Linked DNA regions of Homo sapiens: regions 2 and 3 are each linked to region 1. Evidence: promoter capture Hi-C in 16 types of primary human blood cells and fetal thymus (Javierre and others, 2016). All regions are on one chromosome and are shown on one strand. The core of a region is centred on a gene start or on the middle of the fragment in contact, and the rest is flanking DNA. Distances in the headings are between cores, read along the strand shown. Region 1 holds the start of LINC01090 (long intergenic non-protein coding RNA 1090). Region 2 has its middle 310 kb from the start of TFPI. Region 3 has its middle 250 kb from the start of TFPI.

What was found. The method cuts DNA at HindIII sites, captures the fragments that hold promoters and counts their contacts. A CHiCAGO score of 5 or more calls a contact.
Region 2: a contact is called between a fragment that was not itself captured here and the fragment with the promoter of LINC01090 in region 1, in 1 of 17 cell types (M1 macrophages). The highest score is 6.1, in M1 macrophages.
Region 3: a fragment that was not itself captured here is called in contact with the fragment with the promoter of LINC01090 in region 1 in 1 of 17 cell types (M0 macrophages); the score reaches 5.3 in M0 macrophages.

Annotation. Positions count from the first base shown.
Region 1 is chr2:188,285,578-188,290,070 of GRCh38, reverse strand. LINC01090 (long intergenic non-protein coding RNA 1090) reads left to right here and starts at 2,380. Exons shown (of 3, transcript NR_126396.1): 1 at 2,380-2,604. The HindIII fragment of the contact is 11,348 bases long and covers 1-4,493 here.
Region 2 is chr2:187,863,100-187,867,928 of GRCh38, reverse strand. No RefSeq gene overlaps it. Among named protein-coding and RNA genes, the nearest start is that of TFPI, 310 kb to the right of the region's middle. The HindIII fragment of the contact is 1,140 bases long and covers 2,343-3,482 here.
Region 3 is chr2:187,797,531-187,802,015 of GRCh38, reverse strand. No RefSeq gene overlaps it. Among named protein-coding and RNA genes, the nearest start is that of TFPI, 250 kb to the right of the region's middle. The HindIII fragment of the contact is 713 bases long and covers 1,527-2,239 here.

The DNA.
Region 1 (4,493 bases), core at 1,131-3,630:
TTTGTGAACAACTAGATCAGTGTTCAGGACACACAATTCAACTTGAACAAGTTCAAGGCCAAAGAACAAAATCAGGCTACAGAGATCAAACTTTCCATCCTGTGAAATAATGGAAAATCCCATAGCATGTACTTATTTCTCATTCATTTGCCTCTAGTACCTGTAAGAAGGTCTTTTTAAAAAATTCTTCCTTACCATATACAATGTTGAAAATCATCTGAACATTTACATAACTAACTCCCATGTTCTCAGGGATGAGACCCTATATACTCCTTCTAAGTAAGAGTTATTTACTACTCCGGCCTCATCCTCAGTTTCCTAAAGGCATATCATAGCCTCTTTAGAGATCTGTCTTTCCTATCCATAAGACTTGGAAGATCCTAAAGAGGGAAAAAAAAATATGGCTACAAAGCACATCCATCATGAATGGATAAATGAAGATAGATGAGTCCTCATAACTGTCTTTTTCCAATCGTTACATACAGTGCTAAAGATTACTCACTTTTATATTTTCTCCCACTGTTTAAAGTCTTTAAACTTGCTATTGCTTTGTAATTTTTATAACCTGACTTTTGATATGATCTTCTTTGTGAAATGGCTTAGAGGTATAAAAATCTCAAGAGTGTCAGAACCAAGTTTTTAAAAACAATAGAACCAAATGGAACAAGATTTTAAAACAAATTTATAGCATGCCCCAGGAAGTGAAGAAGGGAGATGCCAAAGAAAAGGGTTGCAGAAGCCTAGCAGGGCACTACGATGACAAATACGCCTAATTTTACCTACTGCAAATACCTCAGATTTCCATTTGAAAGTTCTTCACATTCATCATAGGTTCATATAGACCCTGATAGAAACTCAGCAGCTTTCCAGTAATTTTTATTTTTATTTATTTATTTATTTTTTTTTTTTGAGGCGGAGTCTTGCTTTGTCGCCCAGGCTGGAGTGCAGTGGTGCGATCTTGGCTCACTGCAAGCTCCGCCTCCGTGTTCACACCGTTCTCCTTCCTCAGCCGCCCGAGTAGCTGGGACTACAGGCGGCCGCCACCATGCCCGGCTATTTTTTTTTTTTTTTTTTTTTTTTTTTGTATTTTTAGTAGAGACAAGATTTCACTCTGCTAGCCAGGATGGTCTCAATCTCCTGACCTCGTGATCCACCCGCCTCGGCCTGCCAAAGTGCTGGGATTACAGGTGTGAGCCACCACGCCTGGCCTCCAGTATTTTTAAATTAATTTTCTTGCTCAAACCAGAATTAAGTTTCTCTTACCCTAACTAAGGGAACTTTGGCTAAGACAAAAAAACGACCTGTTACTTACCTTAAGAAAACCAATTTTATTTCTGATTATTGCAAAAGCACACAAAAAATATGCTGGTTGTTTAGCCCTATATTTCTGCAAAACCAACATTTAAAGTATTTGACAACTTTTTAAAAACTGTAATGAAAACCAAGACTGAAATTCAAATTTCAGTCATGTGATTTGAAAGGGGGTCATGTTTCTGTTTGTCATGTGTAACAGTGGCCAAATATCCTATGAGTTCCTAGGGGCTCTGGGTTCCAAAGTTACTGTGTTACATTTACCTTCAAACCTCTATCATTTTATCTGTCATTCTGAAAGAATCGCTTTATTTTGATCTTCTTGATTAAGAACATGAAACATGACCATTGCAAAAAAAGAAAAAAAAATAGGAGGGCAACTGCAAAAGGGAAATAAATATCACCTGTATTCCCATCACCAAAAGTACCTATTGCTCACATTTTCTCTATATGCTCCAAGGTTTGTTGAGGCCTCTGAGAGACCCGGATAAATAGTATCCCTTCTTTATGCCTGGGTGGGGAATAAATTGACCAAAAAAATGAGAGCAAAATATTACTCTATGATTGACAGATAACGGATTTGAATTGGTAGATCCAAAAGCAAAGAACTGAAACAGCAGCCTCAGTCAACGTAGTTCCTGGCCTCCTTCTAACCTGAAAGGAGACAGTGCCTTTGAAAAAGGATTTAAATTGTTTTTTGAGTTCTATTCCAAAGAATGAAAGAGAGAGAAAGGTAGTTGAGCCTGGCATGCCCAGCAATTCTTCCCAAGTTTATTCCTAAGTTTATCTACCAAATGTCATAACATCTCTCCAAGGGCAAGTAAGTAAAGACCCAGTAAAATATTTTTGCATGGAAACCAGGAGTAGAGGAAAGGCATTACCCAGCACCCACAGACACTTAACAATTTTCTTTCCATTTTTTTCATGTGGAAGTATAACGTACATACTACTCCTTTTTTTTTTTTTTTTTTTTTTTTTTTTGAGACGGAGTCTCCCTCTGTCGCCCAGGCTGGAGTGCAGTGGCGCGATCTCGGCTCACGGCAAGCTCCGCCTCCCGGGTTCACGCCATTTTCCTGCCTCAGCCTCCTGAGTAGCTGGAACTACAGGCGCCGCGCCACCACTCCCGGCTAATTTTTTTATTTTATTTTATTTTTTATTTTTAGTAGAGACGGGGTTTCACCGTAGCCAGAATGGTCTTGATCTCCTGACCTCGTCATCCGCCCGCCTCGGCCTCCCAAAGTGCTGGGCTTACAGGCGTGAGACACTGCGCCCGGCCCATACTACTACTTTTTTGTAAGTATTCTTTCAAAATATTTATTTTCATATGCATTTTTCGTTTACCTAAATGACATCATGTAAACTATTCCATCTTGGCCCTTAATTTTTTTTCTCCAAACACTTAAATTTTCAAATAATCTTAGTGAAAAATTAGCAGCTCAATCGCTTTAATTTTTATTACTTTCACTGTTAATAAAACTGAATAAGTTTTCATAAAGTTAATAACCGTTTATATTTTCTTTTGTGAGGTGGCTATTTATATATTCTGTACATTTTTCTCTTTTCTCTATTGTTTCATATATTTTTTCTTTTTCTTATTGATTTTTAAAGGTTCTGTATGAGGTAAATATATTAACCTCTAGCCAAAAAACGGGTATTTGTCTTATTAACTTAATTAAAATAATTAAATTATTTTGTTCTATTTTAAAACTATGTAGAATTTCTTTAAATGTAATCGGTTTATGATTTCTTGAGTTTTTAAAAAATATAATGACATTTCACCCAAACTAATTAGCAATATTTTCTTCTAGTATTTTGTAGTTTTCGTTTTTCAATTTATTCTGATGTGAAATCTAAAGATAGGGCTTTTGTTTCCCCCAGAATAATGACCTAGGTGTCCAACACCACATATTGAATAGATCCATTCTTTGTCCAGTGATTTTAGCAGTAATTTTTATCATATGTTAACTTAGATATAAAACAGGGTCTGTTCAATCAGAACTTCCAGGTGTGGTCAAACAGCATGCAAAATGCAGTAAGACACCTAAAAAAGGTCCAGTGCAGAATAAAATCCAGCCAAGCTCTTTTGCCAGCCAAGCCAATGGAGCTTGCGAGCAAGAAGAAAGGGATATCTTTTCTAACTACAAAGGCATCTTCGGCTCCTAGCCAAGCACCTGCAGAGCTTCCTTGGAAAGAATTGGGCATCATGTGGGCTAGCGGTAGTCCTTTCCCATTTAATAGTCAGTGTATTTCTGCAATAGAACATTATTAATTATCTCAAACTATCATTGTTTAAAATATCTACTGGGGCAAATTCTCCTTTATTATTTTCTCCCCCTTTCAAAGGTTTCATCACTATTCTCTCAAAGTTATTTTTCCAAATGAACTTTGGATCCATTCTGTTAAGTTTCCTTGTCACAACTTCCTATTTCCTACCTTTGCCCACAAAAGTCTTCTGTTAGAAGTGTGTTCAACTCATGTATCAATTTACTTGAATTCACTTCATTATTCAATTTTTTCTTCTGATCCTGAAAAAGGATGCTTTTTCAACTTGAAAAGACCTGACTCTGCACCCATTCAAATTATATTTTTACTCTCCAATCTATTAAATTACCACTTGTTAAGTTCCATGTTGTTGCTAAGAGTGAAAGGGCCATTTTTCTACAACAATTGCAGGACATAAATAATACTTGGAATAGAAGAGCCCTACTTAACACGAGTAATGAGAGAAAGCACAGATCTTAATCAAGGGTCACATTTCTGCTTCTTGTTCCAGTTCATGTGCACTCTAGATGATAGTGAATGAATACCTTATATGGAGTCCAGCCATGACCAAAAGACAGGAGCTAACACTCAGCTTCATGGAAAGGCCCAATCTAATGTCCAGGAATAGACTCCTGAGGTATGGTCTTCTGCCACAGAGCTTTCAGGCCTAGAAAATTTGCTTGAAGCAGTTTTACTTGCTTGAAAAACTGCTGCGATAAGAAGATATTTTTTTCATTTGAAGTCTCACATACTTAAAATACAAAAATAGAACAAAGACATTGCATTGCAAATAGAATTACAGTCTTATTTTCTTAATAGAGTAAAAAATAAATTGTCTAAAATGATTTTTGACAAAGGAAACTTTTTATTTGAAAATTATGATTTGCAGTCTTTCACTAGAATGCTAATTTATTAACTCT
Region 2 (4,829 bases), core at 1,663-4,162, 420 kb after region 1:
AGGGTCATGGAGCTGGATACCCAGAGAGGAGTTGGTGGTGTTCTAGTTTGAGGTTAGTTCAGCTGAAGCCCTAGGCAGGAGAGGGTGTTTTTTAGTTTCAGAGTCATGTAGCTGTAGAACTTGGGAGGAGCTGGAGTTTTTCTAGTCTGAGTGTCGTGCAGCTGGAGACTCGGAGAGGAGCTGATGTTCTAGTTTGAGGGTCCTGAAGCTGGAGACTCAGGTAGGAGCTGATGTTTTTCTGATCAGAGTGTAGTGGAGCTGGACACCCAGGGAGAAGCTAGCGTTATTCTAGTTTGAGGTTCCTTGAGCTGGAAACCCAGGGAGGAGCTTATGTTGTTCTAGTTTGAGGGTCTTGCAGGTTGAGACCTGGGGAGGAGCTGGTGTTTTTCTAGTCTGAGGTTCGTTCAGCTGTAGACCCTGTGAGGAACAGGTGTTTTTTTTACTTGGAGGGTCATGCAGCTGTAGAACCCGGAGGAGCTGGCGTCTTTCTAGTGTGAGGGTCGTGCAGCTGGAGACCCGGAGAGGAGCTGGTGTTCTAGTTTGAGAGTTGTGCATCTGAAGACTCGGGGACAAGCTGATGTTCTAGTTTGACGGTCATGCAGCTGGACACCTTGGGAGGAGCTGATGTTCTAGTTTGAGGGTCATGCAGCTGAAGACTTGGGGAGGAGCTGATGTTCTAGTTTGATGGTCGTGCAGCTGGAGACCTGGGAAGGAGCTGATGTTATTCTAGTTTGAGGGTCATGGAGCTGGAGACCCTGGGAGGAGCTGATGTTTTTCTAGTTTGAGGCTCCTGTATCTGGAGACTCAGGTAGGAGCCGATGTTTTTCTGATCAGAGGGTCTTGGTGCTGGAGACACAGGGAGGAGCTGATGTTTTCCTAGTTCGAGGGTCGTGGAACTGGAGACCTGGGGAGGAGCTGATGTTTTTCTGATCAGAGGGTCATGGAGCTGGAGATACAAGGAGGAGCTGATGTTTTCCTACTTCAAGGGTCATGGAGCTGGAGACCCAGGGAGAAGCTGGTGCTGCTCTTGTTTAAGTCTGAAGGTCATAGAGCTGGAGACCCAGGGAGAAGCTGGTGCTGCTCTTGTTTAAGTCTGAGGGTCATGGAGCTGGAGATCCAAGGAGGAGCTGATGTTGTTTTCATTTGAAGGTCGTGGATCTGCAGACCTGGAGAGGAGCTGACACTGTTCCAGCTTGAGGGTTGTAGAGCTGGAGACCTGAGGAGGAGCTGATGCGGCTCTAGTCTGAGGGCCATGGAGCTGGAGATCCGGGGAGGAGCTAGTGTTTCTCCAGTGAGAAGTTTGTGGAGCTGGAGACCCAGGGGGGAGCTGGTGTCCCTCCAGGTTGAGGGTTGTGCAGCTGACCCTCAAACGACCTCAAACTAGAAAATCACTCCTACCCCTGGATTTCCAGCTCCTCCACCCTCAAACTAGAACAACACTGCCCCCACCCCCGCACCGTATCTCCAGCTCCATGACCCCTAAACCAAAAAAACACCAGCTCCTCCCTGGTTGTCCAGCCCCATGACCCTCAAACCAGAAAAACACAGCCCTTCCCTGGGTGTCCAGCTCCATGATGCTCAAACCAGACCAAAACCAGCTCCTTCCCGGGTGTCCAGCTGCAGGACCCTCAAACATTGTCCGCTGGTGATTTTTCTGGTCTTGTAGAATAAATCTGTTTGTACATGCTCACTTTTCTGATACTTCTGTCTGCTTTCTTAATTGCTGGAGCAGTTCTGACATATCTACCTCATTTACTTGGTGTTTCCAAGCTTCAAGGAATAATTATTGAAACATATTAGACCTATCTCCAGCATTCTTAAGGCATTATTCAATTCTAAATGATGAGTGAGTGGCCCTATGTCAGCAATTTTCTACCGGCCTTTACTTCATCTTTTCTGGTCCCACATCCTCAAGATCAATTGCCTAGCATGTTCTACAGATTTCTGCTGGTACATATTAGCCAGGACCTAGAATTCTTTTAGTGTATAATTTCCCTCCCATAGCAGGAACTATACTTTACCTGAGCTGTGGTGAGACTTGAATTTCCTTATTGGGCTAGAAGCTGTGAGCAGTGGTGGAGACACCTTAAAGGAGGCCAAGAATCATTTGGCAGGGCCTTAACTTCAGGTGAGTCCTTCTCATAATAGTATGAGGCTGTGTTTCTCCAGCAAGGAGAGTGAAATCTTCCCATCCTGCTTAGACTGTTTAGGGCTACCTAGAGGTTTAAACACCTCTCGCATGCATCTCTACCCAAATATTCTGGCCTAAGGGTCTCATTTATTTGTTAACACAGCTTTGGCTTTAACACAGGAGAAGCCCTGCTATGGCTGTAAATTAAGCTTCCTTTGTGGTGTGCGCTTGTTACAATTAAGATTGTAGTTTTCAACACACTCCTGTCTCTAGCCAGAATTGATAAGGGTCTCCTAAAGTGCCACCAAGGACACTTTCTGAAAGTCACACTATAAGTCATTTTGTTTGCTATTCTATGTTTGTTACTTTCCTTCTTTGGGGCTTCTATGGTGTTAACAATCACCAAACAATATCACAATATGCATAATTAGCATTCTTTTAAGCACTAGAGCTATTACATAAACCAGTGCTAAATTCTACAAGTCTTCTGGGTTTTCTAATCTAATCCATATGAGTAGTTGCATTGTATAGGATGCTGTGGATAATTATTAACCCAGTTACTAACAGCAAGGAGGGCCTTGTTGACATTTGCACAGCAAGTGATCTAACTCCAGAATCTCATCCTTCACCAACACTCTTTAGCTGAGTTCCCTAGAGGCATACTTCAAGAAAAGGATTTGGGCCGGGTGTGGTGGCTCACGCCTGTAACCCAGCACTCTGGGAGGCTGAGGCGGGTGGATCACGAGGTCAGGAGATTGAGACTATCCTGGCCAACATGGTGAAACCCCGTCTCTACTAAAAATGCAAAAATTAGCTGGGCATGGCGGTGCATGCCTGTAATCCCAGCTACTAGGGAGGCTGAGACAGGAGAATCACTTAAACCAGGGAGTTGGAGGTTGCAGCGAGCCGAAATCGTGCTACTACACTCCAGCCTGGCGACAGAGTGAGACTTCATCTTAAAAAAAAAAAAAAGAAAAAAGAAAAGAAAAGGATTTGATTGCAAATTAACTGCACGAAAAATCAGTAAAGAAGTGGGAAGTAAGATAGGAGAGGAAACAAAATTAATAAAAGGTGCTTTAACTAGCCAGGTTATCCCTGAGGCACTAAGGTTCAGTCTTAAGGAAAACCCCTGGTAGATGGCCAAGTTTTCTAATCCAAATTTCAAAAAACCTGAGACACTTATCCTTCAATTCATTTCTATAAATGAATGAGTGGCAACAACTAAGGGTTTAATCGTGGTCACTTCTAGCCTTACACAGCGTGTGAGTTGAGAAAAAGCTCTCAGGCAGAGACATCTTTGACATATATGGGAATGGAATTCCTTTCTGTAGCTCAGGATGCCATATAAGCTTCAATCATCTGACCCTTCTTTGAATCTCATGTTTTGTGGGACTCCAGTGCAAACGCATGTAATTAAAATAATTTTCTCCTGTTAATCTGTCTTATGTCAATTTAATTCATAGGCCAAAGAACATAGAAGGGTACACAGAAGACATTTTCCCTCTCTTACGCAGGTACAGGGAATATTGTTTGCAATGCTCACGGACAAAACAGAAAAAAAGCATAATACTTTCAGGGCATACAAATAGTTTGAAATGGCTAGAATGTGGAGTGATAATTCGATGAAGTTTTCTAAACAGGTTTCATGTTTGGTTTGGTTTGGTTTAATCTACAAAATAGGAATAAGAGTACCTAACTCTTACTCTTCATGTTAAAATTTAATTAATTATTAATATGTGAAGTACTTAGAACAGCTCCTGGCACTATCAAGTGTTTATAAATATTAACAATTATTAGCATTATTATATTTCTACTATTATTTTTAGAAGATTGGAAGTATGATCAACCACTTACTACAGAGTGAGGAGCAGAGGCACATGCCTCATCAGAACACCATACCCAGTGATATTCAGGAAAGCAATTTAAAAACCTCCTGACCCTTCTTTTTTTTGAGGGGATAGTGTGAGTGATAGGAAAAGGAGGTCACTGCTTTGTAAGTACACATATTTGATTAATGTAATTTGTATTTTCCTGTAGTACTGCCTAAGATTTATATTTTGAAATCCATATTACTTTATTATATAAATTGCATTATAATTATGTAATATATAAATACTTTTGTTTTAAATTTGATCTTATCCTTTTATCAAAATGAATGGCTTTTATATTTACCATCCAGAAATAAAGAAGGTAGTCTGTTGATACTGAAAATTACTGCTCTAAGAGGGTGATCATCAGTTTTACTTGTGAGAGTTTAAAGAAATTCTGAGGACCAGGTTTCCTCTCCTGCAGTTCTGATTTATAAATTCTAGTTGTGGCTTGGGGCATTGTGACTGAGACAATTAATAAAGATAATCTCAACCTAATTGATAAGAGTAATAGTGTGATGCATAAAATTATTGCCAATGATTTGGGTCAAAGAAAAATTCAAAGCTTTCTTACCCCTTAAAATCAGCTTGCATGTAAAATCAGAACCCTCCTATATTCAATCAATCACAAATATAACCAACTACTTCATGGAAACTACCAAAAAATTAATCAAATTCACAAACTTTTATAATTTATGCTCCTTCAGGAAAGAAGAACATTTCATTTGTTATTGAAGCTCTTTTATTACTGAGTAAAATAGCTTGAAGTATTAAACTGGTCACTTTAATAATGAATGATTTTATGATTACATTGCTCTCATAGCTTAATG
Region 3 (4,485 bases), core at 634-3,133, 490 kb after region 1:
TGAGGAAAAAAAGCTAACCATCTGAGATGACCACCTCAAACACAAGGGCAAAGAACTGGAATAAAATTCAGTAATGAATCAAGTGTAGAATAAATGAGTATCTAAAGTTAGTTTGAAAGAATGGCCTTGAAGAGGCTTGAAGAACAATAAAAATGTAATTTCATTTCTTTTAATAAATAGCTTTTAAAGTCCTGCATTATACAAACTAAAAAAAGTGATATGTTACCTACCACTTCATTTTAATAATTTGACTTTTATTTTTTCATATTTAAGAAAAATATGTAGACACCATATTGACATATTTCTTTTTCATTCCAAGTCTATTTCTGATGTTATGACTTAAGTAACTATACTTATGGATCAACTTTCAGAAAGCTGAAAAATATAGAAAATGAAATAGGGTTATGGGTTGAATTTCTGCAGTTGCAAGACACAGTTTGATATTTTTTCCCTGAAGTAAATATAACTTATATTTTTTAAACTCCAGATTCAGTTTTCTTTAAGTTTGATAACTTTTTGAAAGAAGTAGATTATATTGTTACAGGTTTGAAAACTGACATCACAGAAAAGGTGCTAATGAGTTATTTTAGTGAAGACTTGGTTAAAATGCATGATGACAAGGCTAGGCTAAATGGGAAAATAATATGTAGTCAGACTCAGATAAATTTATCTGAGCCCCTTTTGGCTCAGATAAATTTGGAGTGGGCAATAGGAAATTTCTTTACCAAAATATTTTAATAAGAAAGAATGGAAAGAAAATCCCATTAGCGCTCCCAACATTTAGAGATTATATTTAATACTCTTAAAACTGCTTTAGAAAGGAATTAGAACTCCTTGGAGAAATGCCTGATTCACATGAACATAAAACATTGTTTTTTTTGTGCCTGAAAATAGAGATATTCAAACAATGGGAGAGACACATCAAAAAGATACAGGAGCCAGCTCAAGCAAGCAACCACTGGCCAAATCAGGGACATTTTGAGAATCAAGTAGGCTGCAGGGAAAAGATTCAACTTGCTCAGAGCTGAGGTGGGGAATATTTTGGACAAGCTTCCCTCAAATTGAGGTGTCTCATGTTGCCGTTGCCTTGAGTTAACTCTGTATTTCTGGAGAAGCTACTCTGAGGTAGCTGAAAAATTTTTGTGGGCATATGGAGAACAAAGGAGTAACATTTATTCAAGAAAATCTTCTAAATTTGTCTAGGATAGTAAGGATCTGTGGCATTTGAACCACAAACTACCTTCACCCCCACCTCCACCTCTCACCCGTCCCTCATAGGCTCCATCTTATGAAAAAAAAGTACTCCAGGAGCTCTAATATAGGAAGGTGAAGCCAAGAAGATGCGGTCCTCTCTCTCCTGCAGATTCCAGGTGGGGCCTTGGTTTCAACTTGCAGGTGGAGCGAACAGGCTGTAAGAATTTCTCATTCCACCCTCAGCCATGTTAAGTCCATGTAAGTTGTATTTCAGGCAGGTGCGGTTGAGAGGACCCTTGCTTCACCTAGCCTTTAATCACAAGGGTGAAGCTTTACCCTAGATGCAACAGACCAAGAATACTGTATTCTGTTCTCTTATACAATAGCTACAAGCTCACTCATAGGGCATAGGTTACATACCAGGAGAGGCAAGGCAAGAAGACCAGAGCCCCTTCCAACCTACACTCTCGAAGCAGAGCTGTCACTCCAGGAAATGTAGGCTACTGTCCCTGTGCCCAGTTCTAGTGTAGTAGTGCAGAGGTTCTACCTATGGGGAGAGGTAAGCTGGAGAGGTCATACCTAAGGGCGAAGAGCTCCACAGCTCTACATGAGAAAACTAATTTTATTTGTAATAAATTATGGAGGATTTCATGCCTAAGGATTCTGCTAAAAGCAATGGAGTTTTTGGGGAAGGGCAATTAAGAAGACATATCTATAACTCCATGATACAAGTATTAATAAGCAAAACTGCTGAGCATCAGAATTTTATCATAGAGAAGCAGAGAATGAGTGAGCCAAGAAGGTCTATCCTGTGATGACAGCCAACAGGGTTGGAAGGGCTGTCTATATGCTCTAAACTGTACCTTGTCAGGAGTAATCAGGGCAGAATGTAAAGAATATTTGAAAGAATTCCTTAACCACAACAACGGGCATCAGCAAAGGGCAGAAGTCTCAGTGGCGCAAGAGCTTAAGCACAACCTCTGACCATTTTCTAGCTAAACAAAAAGCTATTTTGACATAGGGGCAACTCCTAGAAAACTAAGCTTTAAAATGACATTACATGTATCCATGGCAACCTGGAAGATTGTATGTATGGCCAAGATGTTGCCCTCCAGGAGTGAATGGAGAAGTAAAATCTAAGCTACTCATACTTGCGTGAAGACGTGGCAAAAACAGATTCCTTTGACTCTTAACAGCAGCCTCCACACCACAAATACGTTCAATGATAAAGATTAAAAATCTAACAGGTGAAGAGGGATTAAGCACAACTCCTGAATAATAAATGACCTATGCTAATCCAGGGACAATACCTACATAACCAGGCTGAAATATTAAAATAAGAAAAATTCTGAGCGAGTACATCAAAAGTCACATGGTCGTACTGAGAAATGACTCTGCAGAAAGTCTAGCCATTAAACAAATAAAATATTATTTAAATGTTTAATGGCAACTAAATATTATTAAGCAAATAAATACATGGCCAATGAAAAAGCTACAACATAACCTGGGGTGAATGGGATCAGCAACATGCGGTGCTACCATATATTATCTGAAAGGCTGCATTTGCAACGTAAAATTTTGAGATGCACAGAAACAGAGATAATCATAACCATATACAGAAAAAGCAGATAATAGAAACTTATTTGGAAATGGTCTAGATACTGCAGTTATCACAGACTTTAAATCAGCCACTATAAATATATTCAAAGAACTAAGAAACCGTGTCTAAAAAAAATTAAAGAAAAATGGCAATAATGTTCCATGAATAGAAAGAGAGAGAAATTGTTTTTTGGAGAACCGCATGAAAATTTTATAGTTGAAAATGCAATAATCAAAATGAAATATTCACTAAATTGGCTCAACAGTAGATTTGAGTTGACAAAGGAAAGAATCAGCAAACTTGATGATAGAGCAATACAGGTTATGTAATCGGAAGAAGATAGAGAAAAAAGAATAAGAATAAATGAAGTGAGCCACAGAGAAAAGTAAGACACCAATAAGTACCCCAACAAAGGTATAATGGAAAAACCATGAAGAAGAGAAAGAAAAGGGCAGAAAAATATTCCAAGAATGACTGAAAACTTTCTACATTTGATGAAAAACATTGATCAGATAATTTAAGAATTTTGATGAACTCTAAATATTTTAAGCACAAAGAAATCCACACTTAGACATAGTCAAAATGTTGATGCCAAAGACAAAGTCTTGAAGGCAGTCAGAGAGAAAAATGACTTGTGATATACAAGGGAATCCCAAAAAGTTTAAAAACTGAATTCTCATGAGAAGCAACAGAAGCCAAAAGGCAAAGATATAATATATTTAAAGTGCTAAAATGAAAAAAACTGTCAACTAAGTATCTCATATTCATCAATATTATCTTTAATAAATGAAGATAAAGACATTCTCAGAAAAACAAAATTTGAGGAATTTATTGCTGGCAGACTCACAAGAAAATATTAAAAAGAATTCTTCAGGCTTAAAGCTAATGAAACTGGGTAGTAATAAAAAAACACATTAAAAAATAAAAAATTTCCAATAATGGTAATTATGTAAGTATAAAGGACAGTATAATTGGATAATTATTACTATTCATTTTCTTAACTCATTTAAGGAATAGTTGCATAAAATACATGTATATAATTGGATTGTTGGGTTTAAAACATTAGACAATAATATATTTGACAATAACAGCACAGAGGAGGTGGGTAGGAGAAAAGTTGTATAGAGTAAGAAATAACACAGACAGCAACTATAATTCAATGGAAGAAATACAAAGAATAAAAAATGGTAAATAAAAGGTACATGTAACAATTCTACAAACACATACTCTCTCTCCTTTCTTTTTTCGAGTTTTTTAAGAGATATAAGATTATATAAAATAATAACTATAACAATGTATTATTGAGTTCATAACATATAATGACCTAATATGTACTTCATTATGTATATGTACCACATTTTCTTCATCCATTCATCTATCAGTGTAACATTTAGGTTGCCTCCAAATCTTGGCTATTGTGAATAGTGCTGCAATAATCATGGGAGTGTGGATATCTCTACTAATTTTATTTCCTTTCGATCAATATCCAGTAGTGGGATTGCTCGATCATATGGTAGTTCCATCTTTTGTTATTTGATGAACCTTCATACTGTTCTCCATAGTAGTTGCACTAATTTACATTCCCCCCAACAGTGTATGAGGGGTCTCTTTTCTCCACATCTTCACCATTTTTTAAATCACATGTCTTTTGGATAAAAGCCTTTTTTTTTTTTTTTTGGAGATGGAGTTTC